Regions from separate parts of the Homo sapiens genome. Here all the other regions are linked to region 3. The links are contacts of gene promoters, found by promoter capture Hi-C in blood cells and fetal thymus (Javierre and others, 2016). All regions are on one chromosome and are shown on one strand. The core of a region is centred on a gene start or on the middle of the fragment in contact, and the rest is flanking DNA. Distances in the headings are between cores, read along the strand shown.

Region 1 (4,744 bases), core at 683-3,182, 140 kb after region 3:
AGTGGTATCTGCATCATGCCACAGACACCTCTTTTTTTCCTCAATTGAAGAAACAATCTCCCCACAATTCTGATGCAGAGGTACAAGAGAGAAGCAACTGAGAATGCCCCTAAGTCCTGGGACGTGAGCCGCTCATGAGTCCCAAGCCTCAGATCCAATGTGCAGTGCCATGATCTACCTGTAGTAGAGTCCAGGGACTCAATGAACTCCTCTGTGGCATCGCCCAGCAGCCCCCGCATACGATAAACAATCCTCATGGGCTCTCCCTGAGCAGAGAAAGTTGGAGAAAGGTACTTAAAAACAGGCCCAGACAAATGCAAAGGACTCCATACTTGGTCTTGCTTAAAGCCCCAGCAATGTGGAGAGCCTCTATTTTTCTACAAAGTCTCAACCACAACATCTAGAATCCAAATGCACAGCAATTCACTTAGGGGAAAGAATGCTAATTTTATTTTGTGTCTACTAGAAGCTAGACATTGTATGAAACATTTTAAAGACACTATCTCCTTCAATTTCATTAGAACACTATGTAATAATCTAACAAATATTTATTGAATGTTTTACTCTGTGCCAGGTCCTATGCTAATTAAGTACTTTCTATGATCCTTTTACATAAGGTTACACAGCTTGTTCAAGGTTACCAAGCTATAAGCGGAGGTCTAATTCCAAGCCTGGACCTTCCTCAGGAGTAGAAACTGTCTCCAATCAATAGGGACTACTACCCAGGACAAACAAGGCCATTTAAATCAAAGAGCTTTGACTCAAGCCTCGGGAATCAAAACAGGAAAAGAGAGTACATCAATCTTTACCTACAGAGATTCAGACGTCTTTATATAACCATACAAGGAGGGGGTTCATCCACAATTCTTTAAGCTAAACCCACAATCTGACTAGAATGATAAGAATCAAGTCTTTTATAAATGACAAAATTACAGCAACTTCACTAAATTGGAGAATAAGGAAAGTTCCCTGTATGTCTGGCACTGAGCACATATATTAATATTATTCTCATTTTGCAGACTAGAAATTGGAGCTCAAAGTAACCACTGATGAAATCCAGTGGGGGATTTGGTAGCACGCTAATTCAAGCAGCCTGCCTCCAAGTCTATGCTGAGCTTCAGGACAGGACACCCTGGAGGAAGACAACCTGCCAGAAAGGCCAGTTGCAGAAGTGTTTCCGGCTATAGAAGCCCAGTGAGAATTCCTCAGAGAGAACCACCACAGACACTGAACACAGAGCAGGTTCTAGTTCTAGTCAGTAGCTACAGAGGTAGGCTGCTTATCAGGGAAATGGAGGGCAAGGTAGAGAAGGGAAGCTGAAGTCCCAGAACATAGGCTATCACAAACTCAGAACTTTGCCAGAAAACCTTCTAACTGGATTAAGCACATCAATGTGAGGGGCAAATGATTCTCAACTTCTATCTTGCTTCACCATTCAAGGGAGATACCCTGGTGCATTCTGTGGGTTCACTACCACCATTTACCAGAGTGCCCACAGAAGCTTGGTCTTAATTTTTTATATGCATCAGGGATTAAATCTGTATTGTTCTGTTTTGATGCTACAATGTCTGTAACAAGAGGTACTGGCTGGGACAGTTCTCTGCCTGTCCCTCAGCCAACAGTGCAACAACGACCCCACTGGCAGTAGACCAACAGTCAACAGTAAGCAGGATTCCCAGCCCAGTGGGAGAAAAGAAAGGAGAGAGGCGGAAATATGTAACAAATTGAAGATCAAAATCTACAAATAGTATACTGCCAATTTAGTTTCTCAAACTCTACAGAAGTATTTGGGACCAAGTCTAGAAAAGTTTGCTGTGCATCCCTGCTACACTAGTTTGCTGTAATTAAGTTACTTATCTGATTCATGTGCTAAAGACCTCTCCTCCCAATAGAAACAAGAGAAGGGAAGAAATGGCAGGGGGAGAGAGAAATGGAGGGGAAGAAAAAGAAACAGGAAGAGAGGAATGGAAGGAACAGAGAGTAAGAAAGGAGGGAAAGGTGAAGGGGACCATCTAATACTTCCATAAGTGGACAAACAGCATCACTCGTGGTGGCCAAAAGGCCCAGAGCGCTGGACTTCCTTCATTTCCCTTTTCCCCTCCTCAAGAATAACTGCCTGTTTGAGCCTCCATTCCCCAACTAGTAAAACAGAAATGATGCTCCTTGACACAGCTACTGGAAAAATGTTCTACTAAGCGAGCAGGCCCATAAAAGCTGAGAACTAATCTCAGCTGAGAGGTGTCCATACTGAAGGGAACAAGACAGCAAGCATTCCCAGCACAGAGCCTCCTTCGACACCCCCTGGCTTTCAGTTCTTGGGGTTTGACAACTTGCACAGCCCAGCAAAATGCTTTTGCTTTCCTGAAGCTTCATGAAGGTCATTAAATGTCCCTCCATTAGTCAGATGCCTCCAAAGGAAAACAAGATTGGTTTTCTCCACACAACCCCAAACAGGGACAGTAAAGCCTTAGAGAGCTGCTACAAGCCAGGTAAGTGATGATGAACAATGGCTCCTGCTGGTACAAGTCTGCATAAGTCAGAAAAGTGAAACCACACCTCCAAACGAGAAAGCAGGCACATACCTCATTCGTGGTACACCAGACTTTCTTGTAAACTTCAGCCACAGGAAGGTCCAAACTAATGATTTTATTGTTCACTAGAAGCTGAACAGAAAAGCAGGTGAAGCTGTTGTTCCAAATAATTGTAAGACAAGTAAAATCCAAGAGCAAAGGGCACCTTACGGCAATGGTTGATAATTCACAATTTTTATATGTCATGGACCTATCAACTCTCCCACTCTTAAAAAATCCGCACGTATGAAAAACACACAGAATTTTGTGCACAATTTCAGGGGCTGCTAACGTCCCTAACCCACACACAGGCTCCAGCTTAGACACACCCACCGGGGACCTTCTCCTGCAGGCTCAGCACCAGAAAAGGCTTTTCACTATGTAAAAATGTCAGACCCTCAACGGTCTGCCAGAAAGTAACTGACACGGGGACATAAACCTGCACAGGGGGTAAAACGCCAATATTTAGGGGGCTCAGGTAACTCAGACTCACCGAGAAGTCTCTGCCAGAGGCAATAACGATAATAAATACCCACCACCACTACAACCAACAGCCATTAACAATATGCTTACTTCCTGCCAGGCACTGGGCAGAGCCCTTTACAGGTTATTAACCTTAGCACTAGGTGAGGTAGAAAGGTGGGAATCATTAACCCCAACTTACAGAGTGGAGAAACTGAAGGCCACCTGCCCCAAGTTAATCAGCTACTAGGAAGAAGCACCTGGATTTGGTTAGCCTAGGAGGAAGCCCCTAATCGTAAACGTGGGCAGCACTGTCCTATGGTCATTACCTCCATGCCACTGTCATCTTCCAGGAGGGCCACTAAGTCACAGTCCTGGCAAATCTTGTTCTTTATATCCCTCATCAGCGGCCCGATGCCTGGCTCATTGCTGCTATACGGGTTCCCAGGCATCCTGCCCTGTAAGAAGTCTTCTTGTTGGGGATCCTTCTCCAGGGTCACAAAGAACTCAGTGACTTCATTCTCCTCCTGGAGGACAGACAGAAGGGTGCATCAGAAGGGATGGCAGAGGTGGAGATTTATACCATGCTACCTTGTTCCATGGACACTCGAGGAAAACACACCAAACTCAGCAAGCCCCCCAAACATTTAAAGATACAAAGGACAGGAAACTCAGAGGTACTTCCAAAAATCTAAACAAACTCAAGTAGACTAAAATATCAAGCATCTACCCTGAAACCCCAGGGTGGATTAGGAGATAAAGCCTAACAAAACAAGCAGACAAGGAGTGACATATGAGAGATATATTAAAAAATCGGGGAAGGGGTGCGAGGAGGGACTTTCCTTCCTCCTCCTGCTGGTCTCATGTGATGCTAACCAATTTGGGGCCAGAGGACTTTGTCACTGATGACCCTGAAGTCAAGAAAAGGGCTTCTCTATGGGACATGACACTCAGGTACACACCCCCAATGAGCTCTCATTGCTAGCTCATGATACTAGTGTTCATCTTTCCTCAATAGCAGGAAGGGTTCTCTGGATGATACTGTGCTTCTACACAGTTCAGGCTAGGGAAAAAAACACACGCTGCATGTGTGCACAAAATACAGGGCAGCTAAAGAAGGAAGAGAGTAAAAATATCTTTATATTCAAGCTCAATACCGCTTCTTCCACAGTATGTTGGATTGATATGCAATGGGATTTTGGTAATGGAGGTTAGACCTAGTTTTTAAAAAAACATGATTCTTTACTTGAATCTAGGAAATAAGACCAAGGAAGGTCATTAAATGTCCCATCGTTAGCAAGAGGAAAATTATGAGGTTGCTTCACTTTTATGGCGGTGGATCTTCTTTCACTAATGACTAAGTGGCCCACAGCTGGTACAATTCCCCATAACTTTAATGAATCACCAAGAGGCTTCATGGCAAAGTGGGCTGTGCTGACACTCGAGAGCCATGGGAAGCACCGCACTGCTTACAGGATAAATGATGCTGCAGAGCCTCTCGAAGATGAACACCGGGGTCCGGTAGTCATCCAGATTGTAGCGCTTGGCTGTCTCAATGCACACAGCCATGAAGGCCTTGGTTTCTGATTCTGTACCTGCCAGAAATCAAAGCGGCCAAGTTAGGAAAGAGCCTCTCCCATGGAAGGTGAAATGAGAATTCTAACTGAAGTACCATCACTGACAAATTATTTCTGCCTGGTAAGTCTTTAAAT
Region 2 (4,804 bases), core at 2,192-4,691, 160 kb after region 3:
CCTTTTCATCGTAGTTGATGGATCTGAGTAACCAAAGCGTTTGGGTCAGTAAGGTGACAAGGCTGGGTGGGGTGGGGGTCACTCTGAGGAAATGGATTGTGCCACATTTATATACTCTGGTAACTACTGCAGGGGCTACTGAAGGGACAATAACAAATGAATGACTTAAGCAGCCAGGTAACAAGAAAGCAAGACCCAGAGCTAAACTTCTGGACCTCCCTCCGCCCTTACCCTCCACCCCTGCCACAGGACAGACACACTCGTGTGCACATGCACACACACACACACACACACACTCACTCACTCTCTCTTCTTCCTCCTCCCTTTCTACCCTTGAACCCACTCTACAAACCCATAATTCTCTAAATGTTCTGAGGGAATCAGACACTGTAATTGCTCACACTGACACTACTACAGAAAAATAACAAGGAATGTGCACAGCCCTGGCCTAGGGGATGACCAATGACTTACCTGCATTTGTGACACTGGTACACATTCTCTCCACAGTTGCCACAGACTCCTGGGTTGGCAGGGACCGAGGCACTACAGCGAGGGCACTGCAGGGTCTCTGTGGAGGCCTGGTAGTTTTCATAGAAGTCTGCAAACTCAATCATCAGATTGGAGGCCACAATGGGCAACGGCAGGTCAATCTTCACCTCTGTCTGTCCAGGGGTCAGCTGAACCTTCTTGGCTTTGTGCCAGCGAGCTGGCCTAGGAAAGACAGACAGCCTTGAGATTTTCTCATCTAACCCTCAGTGATAACAGTCTGATGAGACAAAGAGGAAGACTGTCCCATGTATTTTTCTAAGGCAATTAAGTGGTTACTCTAAGGAAAAGAAATCTGGCATATAATAGGAAGCCAGTTTTAAAAAAGTTTTCTACTACCTTTTCTCTATAAAAAAAGGAAAGAACATACAAGTGCTTTAAGCTGTTATACATGATACCTTTTGAAATTCCAGGAAAACAACAGAAGTATATAACAAGGGAAACCATGACTCCAAAAGCATGCCACACTGAAGCCTGTAAGAGGTGCAATGATGATGCATGCCAAGTTCCCATCCTGACAGCAACCTTGGAAAGATAAACCCAGGCTATTTTAGAGAGGCAGAGGAAGAAAATCAGGGTCTGAACCAAGTGCTAAGTCAAGTCATAAAGAGGAAGGTATGTAATAATTTTGGGGTGATTATATAACACAATGAGAGCTAATATTTACTGAGTACTTACTATGTACTAGGCTCTGTTCTCAGCACCTGACACATACTAACTCATTTAATCCTTAAACCCTGGAAGTGGGGTCCTACCTCCATTTTATAGTTACAGAAACTGAGGTTAAGCAGCTTCTCTAAGGTCACAGAGCTATGTAGCAGAGCTGGGATCTGAACCCAAATAGTCTACCAGTAGCTCTGCTGACTCCACACAATGAAAAATCAAACCCACCTCCTCTGGAGGGGAATGGGCCACCCTAATGTGCAGCATCTACTTTCAGGTCACCAAGGTTAAACTAGGCTTTTCAAGGCAAGAAGAGAAAACCTCCCTAGGCAGCCTTCATGGCCACGTGTTGCTGTGGTACATGAGCCTTATTCTGCCTCTTGGAATAACAGCAATACTTCCATCCTGTGTGCAGAACAGCTCTGTAAGTCTTACTATTCAAGTAGTGTCAACCTGTGTTCTCCCTTCAGTAGCAATGCCTGAGAGTTCAAAAAAAGGCGATCTGTCTCTGTGAAAGTCAACACTATAACCCATGTGAGTGCCTCTCTTGGCCTAAATATGACATGCCCTGGTTCAGTCACTGGGATACATGGGCTAGGAAGATCCAGTATCAGCAGATACAGAGAAAAGGCACCATGTGGAAATCGAAGAGTGTGTGTACTAAAGAAGCTTCTTGAGAAATAACTTTCTGCCCTGTGAGCAAGAGCATAGCTGTCTTAATCCAAGAAATGACAATTACTTCCCAATACAGAAGGTTTTATCTAAGTCTAGACCTTTGTGTAAGAATAGTTAAAATGGGCATGAGAAGCCTGGAGGTCCCCTCACTCAGCTTCCCCTCCCTAGGCAGGCTGTTGAGGAACTTCCACAGACCCCTATGGCTCCACTGGGCTAATTTAGAAATAATCTTTGTCAACATGCTTAGAACTGTTGTTTCACTTTTGTCCTTTGGTCATGAATGGAGGGGCCAAGAGGATGTATTAGGCCTCTAGGGATGTGCTGCCTTACTCCATTCCAGGAACCGAAGGCAGCAACTGAGCTTCAGCCTTACAACCTGCTGCCCCTCCCGAGGCCTAAAAAGCCCGTACTTGTTTTTCAACTCCACGATGGCCTGCACGGTTCGGTTGTTATAATACAGGTTGATGGTCCGCACCATCTTGGTCCGTTTCAGATCCCCGATTTTCACTGTCACTTTGCTGATGGTGTGACTGCCAATGAGCTTCACAACCTGCTGGGTGGTGGTGTACCGCGTGTCCACTTTAATGGAAGACAGCTTGATATACTAAATACAAGAGTTCACAAAACATGGTATTAGTTCAAGACTCGTACTGCCTTTTTAAAAATTCATCAGTGTAACCCACTCTTCATCCACAAGATGAAGTTTCTATTTAATTTTTTAAAAAATATTTTGTAGAGATGGGGTCTCACCATCTTGCCCAGGCTGGTCTAAAACCCCTGGGCTCAGGGGATCCTCCCATCTTAGCCTCCCAAAGTACTGGGATTATAGGCTTGAGCCACTGCACCCAGCCAAGTTTCTATTTAAGGTAATAAATGTGGCAGATAAAAATTCCTACTATCGGTGACCAACCATTAGGAGAGGAACATCTATGTGATAATGATCCATCTCTGGAAACAAGAATCCCACTGGACCTATTGGCCTCAGGACTGTCCATGTACAGATGTTACTTACACAGAACGGTACTTCCGGGTTATTACACACCAGGCAGGGATCGCTCTCCAGGTAATAGCCATCAAACTCCACTAAGCCAGACAAAGTGCTAAGGAAGAAACCAGTCTTAGCATGAACACATTTTCATCTTAGGAAGCACTGAGTTTCACAAAAAAATCATGACAAAGCCATGGCTCAATGTGAGCCAAAGTGAGCCCAAAGTGAGCCCCACCCTAGTGAGAACTCAAGGACACAGGAGAAATCCCAATAGGGTTACGAAGCCACAGGAAAGAAATTTCAACTAACTGACCTTAGATGTTTCCTAATCTTTGATCTATCCTTCAGAGGAATTCTAAAAAGTAGTAAAATTTGACTCAAGAGTCACAATTAAATTTACTAAAAATCATTGAACTGTACATTTAAAATAGGTTAATACATAAATTATCTCAATAAAGTTTTTTTAAATTTTTTTTAAAGAACAGTCACTACTAAACCAGAGAAATAATAAACTGTCAATTTAACCAATATCCTCTTTTAGAAGTTTTTTTAAAAAAAGGAAGACATTTTCTTTAAATTTGTTTCACCTTATTTAACTTAAACCCTTGAAACTAAAGACCTTTTTTTTTTTTTTTTTTTGAGACAGGGTCTCACTCTGTCACCCAGGCTGGAGTGCAGTGGCGTGGATCACAGTTCATTGCACCCTCGAACTTCTGGCCCCAAGCCATCCTCCTGCCTCAGCCTCCCCAGCAGCTGGGACCACAGGTACACGCCACCACGCCTGGCTAACTTTTTTAAATTTTTTTTTAAGAGATGAAGTCTCACTATGTTGCCCAGGCTATACAGACCTTTCTACATTACTACTCACCAAACCCTGAACTCAGCAATGACATTTTGAGTACCTTCTATTTGCAAGACCCTGGCCTACATGGAGGGGATTGGAATCTCAACTAGGCAGATTCGCTCTTCTCTCAGGCGCTTGTCAATTCCTATGTAAGAGCCTATCACCATGCAAATAACTCCTCAGAATGCTGACTGAGCTTCCCACAGGTAGAAAGCAAAACAAAGCTCACTTATAAATGTTCGAGTTGGGGTGGTTGGTAAGAATATGGTTTTGAGTCCGCAGAATCTCCACAGCCTTCTGTGAATACTCCTTCAACTGAAACAGAATTCAGTAAAGAAACAACTTAAAGCCCAAGGTGAAGTCTTATTGGAAAAGACTTTTGTCTTCTGCATTCTAGCTGAATACTGCCCTAGACCTACCAGACTTCTCAGTCAGAATCATACAAAGCTGGGCCTAATTTCAATCATTTAAATGGATTCTATCTCCTTTAGAAGTTTCCATGAGCTTTAGTGATAGGTAGTACCCTTTTCTGACCTGATGGAGGAAGATCATTTTTATTTTTATGGAGAAGCCATAAAATGGTTAGCTAATTGCAGAAACATTTTCTGGTATGTATAATCAGGGCTACTAGCAAAACAAGGAGCACTTGCTTTTCCAAGGAACTGTAATGAGTTCTATCTTCTTTCCCCACCTGACCTTGACCTACGTCCTATGTTAAGTTAGATTTGTTAGTGTATACTGTCTACATCACAGACATATTACGAGTGCTTACCAAGAAATGCAAAACTAGATATATTTAAAAGAGGTTTCCTATATGGACTCCCTATATCTGGGTTGTTCATAATATTCTTAACTCAAGAGAAAAAAGGTTAAATATGGCAAGTTGGCCCCTCTGACCATAAAGCAACTGTTACCTTCTTCTCTGTTTGTGGAGTTTTCAGGGAGAAATATCCTAGTAGGTCCACAAACTGGGCAGCCTTACGACCATAGGCTGGGAGTTCTGGCCAGATGGACCACATCAGATCTAGCAGGAGCTCCTGTTGAGATTTGCTGGAATTTCTGTGGATATATGACAGCTCATGTTACCA
Region 3 (4,257 bases), core at 559-3,058:
CATTATCTTCTCCTGGGGGCTTTTAAGGCTGAGTTTGTTAGGGCTCAATAAACCATGAGACTCAGGGAGTGGGGAGAAGAGGGATGAAAGGAGGCATTTTATAAAAGCTTGTGAGCAGTCTGTTGTAGTTGTGGTTATCCAACCCAGCAAGCTGGACCTTACAGAGCTGGAGCAAGACGGCAGACACTGGCCCCAGGGGGTAGGGGCAGATCCATCCATTTTCAAAAACGTGATCTCATTTAATTCAAGAAATAAAAAGGCAGTGGGTTGGTTAGAGTTTTTCTTTTCATATGTTGAGGGAGGGGAGCATATTTCCTACTTCCTTGGTAAAAATACTTATGCTAGGAGACAGACTAGCCAGGAGTGGTTAAAATCTCTGGTTGAAATCCCGGTTTCACCACTTACTCGCCAAGCCACCTTAGGCAAATCACTTAGCATTTCTGCACCTCGGTTTCCTCATCTGCGAGATGAGGATAAGACTGCCTTACACAATACGCTGTATTGTGCTGAGAATTAAATGAGATCGCATAAAACACAGACAGTTATTATGTCACCTAGAAAACAATGTGCCTCACCAGTGACAGCATCGAGGTGGCCCCCACGGTAGCCAGCGCCCGCCCCCATCCTGGGATCTAGATAACTGGGCCTTCCTGGCGTACGTAAGACGCTCTGCAAACACAGCTTCCAGCCCACCTGCCAGTACCAGCTGCCCGCCCGGCCCCCGTCCCGCATACGCATTCCGCGGCAGCCTGGACCTGGGCGCCCCGTCCCAGGGCGGCGGGGGAGGGGCGGCCACTCACCTCCGCTTATACTCGTCGCGCTCGCGCTTCACCTTGGCCAGCACGTTGTAGAGCGCGCGGATCTCCGGCGTGATGGTGTCGATCTGCACGCCCACGCCGTCGGGGTGCACCCACGACACGCCGGGGCCCTGCACGGTCTCCACGCCGCCGCCGCCCGTGCGCCGCACCTGCGTGTAGCTCCAGATGGTCCCGGGCAGGCGGCCGTAGTGCTGCGGGTGCGAGCCGCCGCCGGGGGGCAGGCCGCCCAGGGCCACGGCATTGGCGTTGGCGCCGGCCGCCGCGCCACTGCTGAGGCCGTGCCCGCCGCCGGGCGCCGGGGGCCGCAGCAACTCGGGCCCGGTCTGCACGGCCTGCTCGCGGGAGAAGGTCTTGTAGCGCAGCCGCCGCTCGCGCTCGCTCTGCTGCTGCTCCAGCTGCTTCTCCAGCAGCCGGTTGCGCCGCTCCAGCTCGTGCACCTTAGCCAGGAAGCAGCGGAAGCGCACGTTGAGCCCCTTCAAGAGGTGGATGTTGGAGCCCAGGTCGTCCCGCAGCGCCGCCGTCACCGGCGACGGACCCGGCCCTGCCCCGCCGCCGCCGCCGCCCCCGCCAGGGCAGCCCCCGCCGCCGCCGCCCGGCGGGCAGCCGAAGGCCAAGGCCATCTCCCCGAACAGCAGCGAGTTCACCATGCGCCGGCTGCGCGGCTCAGGGCCCCGGGCCCGCGGCTCCAGGTGCGGCTCCAGCTCCGGGCAGGGCTCCCGGCGCGGCCGGGCCAGGGTGGGCGCGGGCTCCAGCGCGGCCGGCCGGGCGGTTCCAGATGCGCGCCAGATGCGGCCTCCGCAGAGACGGCAGGACGGATGGCCCCGGATGCGGGCGCCGAGGCGAGAGAGGGCACTCGGCCGCTCCTCGGGACGCGGTGGAGGCCGCGGTATCTGCGCGGGGCCAGAAGGGTCGCGGGTCTCACCGCCCGGGCTGTCAGAGACGCTGTGGAGGGGCCGCGGCAGCCGCACGCAGAGGACTCTCGGCCGGCACTGCCCCTTCTGCGGCGGGCCCCGCCCACTGCAGACACTGGCCCCGCCCCCGCCGCGGCCCCGCCCACCCCTCCTCCCTCTGCGGCGTTCCCCGAGCCCGAGGCTCCGCCCCACGAGGCCCGCAGCGCCGGGCCCCACCCACAGACCCTCGGCTCCGCCCACCTCCGGGTTCTCCCGCTTTCTCCGCAGCATAGACTCCGCCCAGCTCCCCGGCGGGGCCACGCCCTCTCCTGCGTCTGGTCCTGCCTCCCCGCCGGGTGCCGATTCTCTGCTGGGGGACCCGGACCGCAGAGCTGCACCAGGGACCGGGTTAGCTGGAACCGCCGCAGAGCCAGCCGGGCCTCTTAAAGGGGCCAGCAGCCTCGGCAACGCTCGCTTTCCACTTTTTAGGGCGCTCCTCTCCCACGTCGCCTGCCGAGAGGGCTCCGTTTCTCTGTCCTCTCTGCCCGCAATGCCCCTGGCCCCAAATTCCTTCGGATGTGCGCGACCGCGGCTGGAAGGGCTGGGGGACCACAGTATCCGAAGGTGCATCGGCACCCCACCCCCACTCTAGCCTGGGGAGGCCCAGATCGACCTTTCGGGGATAAGAGGGCGCCCGTGCCCCACGCTGCGGACCCGGGGGTGGGCTCCTCGAATGCTAGCTGCGGGCCTTGTCCTCTCGAGATCGGCCCGGGCACAGCTAAGCCCGCTGGTTCCCCCGCCCACTGAGGAGCCGAGCAGCATGGGGGTTGGGGAGGCCGAGCAAGACCCTCCCGGGATGACACCCACAAACTCGGCCTGGGCCTCGCCTCTGCTGAGCTGCTCAGCACCTCCCCACCACCCACACCCACACGCTGAGATGAAGCTGACCCCGAGAGCTGGGGATTCATTTCACAGACATGGGGCTTAGCGGGCCGCCTGGGGCAGACCGAGGCAACCCGAGGACCCATTCATTCATTCATTCATTCATTCAAATGTTTTCACACCTACCACGTTAAAGGCCAAGTTCTCCAGTCTCTGGTGTCTCCTGAACCGTGTTGCAAACATTAGTATATGTCAGGCGCCATACTTATTTATTATCCCCATTTTACAGAGAAGGTCACTGAGACGTTAAGTAGCCACAATGGTCCAAAGTGCATGCTCTAACCGGCCTTCCACAATGCTGGCCTCGGGCCTCGTGTCCATTTCCGCATTTGGTCCTCACCGCAAACCTCAGAGGGGAGGTGACCCCCACCTTGAACCCCCACCTTTGAACGCCTGTGGCTTGCATTGTATGCACTTAACCAGATATGTGGCATGTTTCAGATACTTCCGACTGCATTTTTTACTAGCAGTTTAATTTTTGTCTTGTTATTAACTTTTGTGTTTGTTTTGTCTCTTTGTATGTAAGCTTGAGGACAGGCACACTGTCTTACATGGACAATGCCTTGGTGTTCTTGGTGACAAAGGAGACACGGGCTTGCCCTGGAGTGATGTGGCTGTGATGTTAGTCTGCTGTGTTTTTGATTTAGCCACAAAAGCAAACCTTCCCCATAGTTCCTTCCCTCAACCACAGTTCCTTGCTTCCTGCCAACACGGACTCACCTTAAACACCCAGCTCTGAAACTCACTCATCTAGAAACCTTTCTCTGCTTAACCCAACCCAGTCTGGACACTGCCCTTTACTCTTCGTTCTCTCGTCTCTTGATGATGTTCTTGTTTATCTAACCTAAGGAATCAAAACCCCTTTGCCTTGAAGCAGAGGTTCATGGACCCCCAAGAGGACTGAGGATAGAATTCTGGGGGGTCCATGACACAGGGGTGGACAAAAGTTATACCTTTAGCCTCACTAATCTCTAAAGGCTTTGTTGTCTGTTTGTTTATTTGTTTGTTTGAAACAGAGTTTCACTCTTGTTGCCCAGGCTAGAGTGCAATGGTGCGATCTTGGCTCATCACAACCTCCACCTCCGGGGTTCAAGAGATTATCCTGCCTCAGCCTCCCAAGTAGCTGGGATTACAGGCATGCGCCACCACACCCGGCTAATTTTTTTGTATTCTTAGTAGAGATGGGGGTTTCTCTATGTTGGTCAGGCTGGTCTTGAACCCCCAACCTCAGGTGATCCGCCCACCTTGACCTCCCGAAGTTCTGGGATTACAGACGTAAGCCACCGTGCCCAGCCAATGGTTTTTAACATATCCTTTGATTATGAATGTAGGCAGCAAGTAGATGTCCCTGTGATTTTGTCACTAGTAGAAATCACAGGTATTTATGTAACACACTACAGTTATTGTAAACATCTCAAGATATCATCTAAGCTACGAGAACTGTGAAATTAAAGTCATATTAGACCGACCACTAAATCTTATTTAATGTATTAGTAAAAGAGAACGTATGTTACTATATGAGAAATTGTTAATAGTTTGATATCTATTTTTAGTAAAATGACTTTTCATAGTAATCCTAATGCCTTTTTAAAAAAATTATTCTCAGA

The links. The method cuts DNA at HindIII sites, captures the fragments that hold promoters and counts their contacts. A CHiCAGO score of 5 or more calls a contact.
Region 1: a fragment that was not itself captured here is called in contact with the fragment with the promoter of IFFO2 in region 3 in 5 of 17 cell types (endothelial precursors, non-activated CD4 T cells, naive CD4 T cells and 2 more); the score reaches 8.3 in endothelial precursors.
Region 2: a fragment that was not itself captured here is called in contact with the fragment with the promoter of IFFO2 in region 3 in 2 of 17 cell types (activated CD4 T cells and endothelial precursors); the score reaches 5.7 in activated CD4 T cells.

The regions. Positions count from the first base shown.
Region 1 is chr1:19,097,015-19,101,758 of GRCh38, forward strand. It overlaps UBR4 (ubiquitin protein ligase E3 component n-recognin 4), which reads right to left. Exons shown (of 106, transcript NM_020765.3): 88 at 4,506-4,627; 89 at 3,362-3,559; 90 at 2,583-2,663; 91 at 179-266. Among named protein-coding and RNA genes, the nearest start is that of UBR4, 110 kb to the right of the region's middle. The HindIII fragment of the contact is 866 bases long and covers 1,500-2,365 here.
Region 2 is chr1:19,114,927-19,119,730 of GRCh38, forward strand. It overlaps UBR4 (ubiquitin protein ligase E3 component n-recognin 4), which reads right to left. Exons shown (of 106, transcript NM_020765.3): 70 at 4,631-4,775; 71 at 3,946-4,031; 72 at 2,897-2,984; 73 at 2,295-2,488; 74 at 472-711; 75 at 1-23. Among named protein-coding and RNA genes, the nearest start is that of UBR4, 93 kb to the right of the region's middle. RefSeq lists an enhancer at 4,630-4,804. The HindIII fragment of the contact is 3,131 bases long and covers 1,877-4,804 here.
Region 3 is chr1:18,954,868-18,959,124 of GRCh38, forward strand. IFFO2 (intermediate filament family orphan 2) reads right to left here and starts at 1,809. Exons shown (of 9, transcript NM_001136265.2): 1 at 801-1,809. The coding sequence starts at 1,465. RefSeq lists silencers at 562-751, 992-1,251, 1,822-1,991. The HindIII fragment of the contact is 3,069 bases long and covers 106-3,174 here.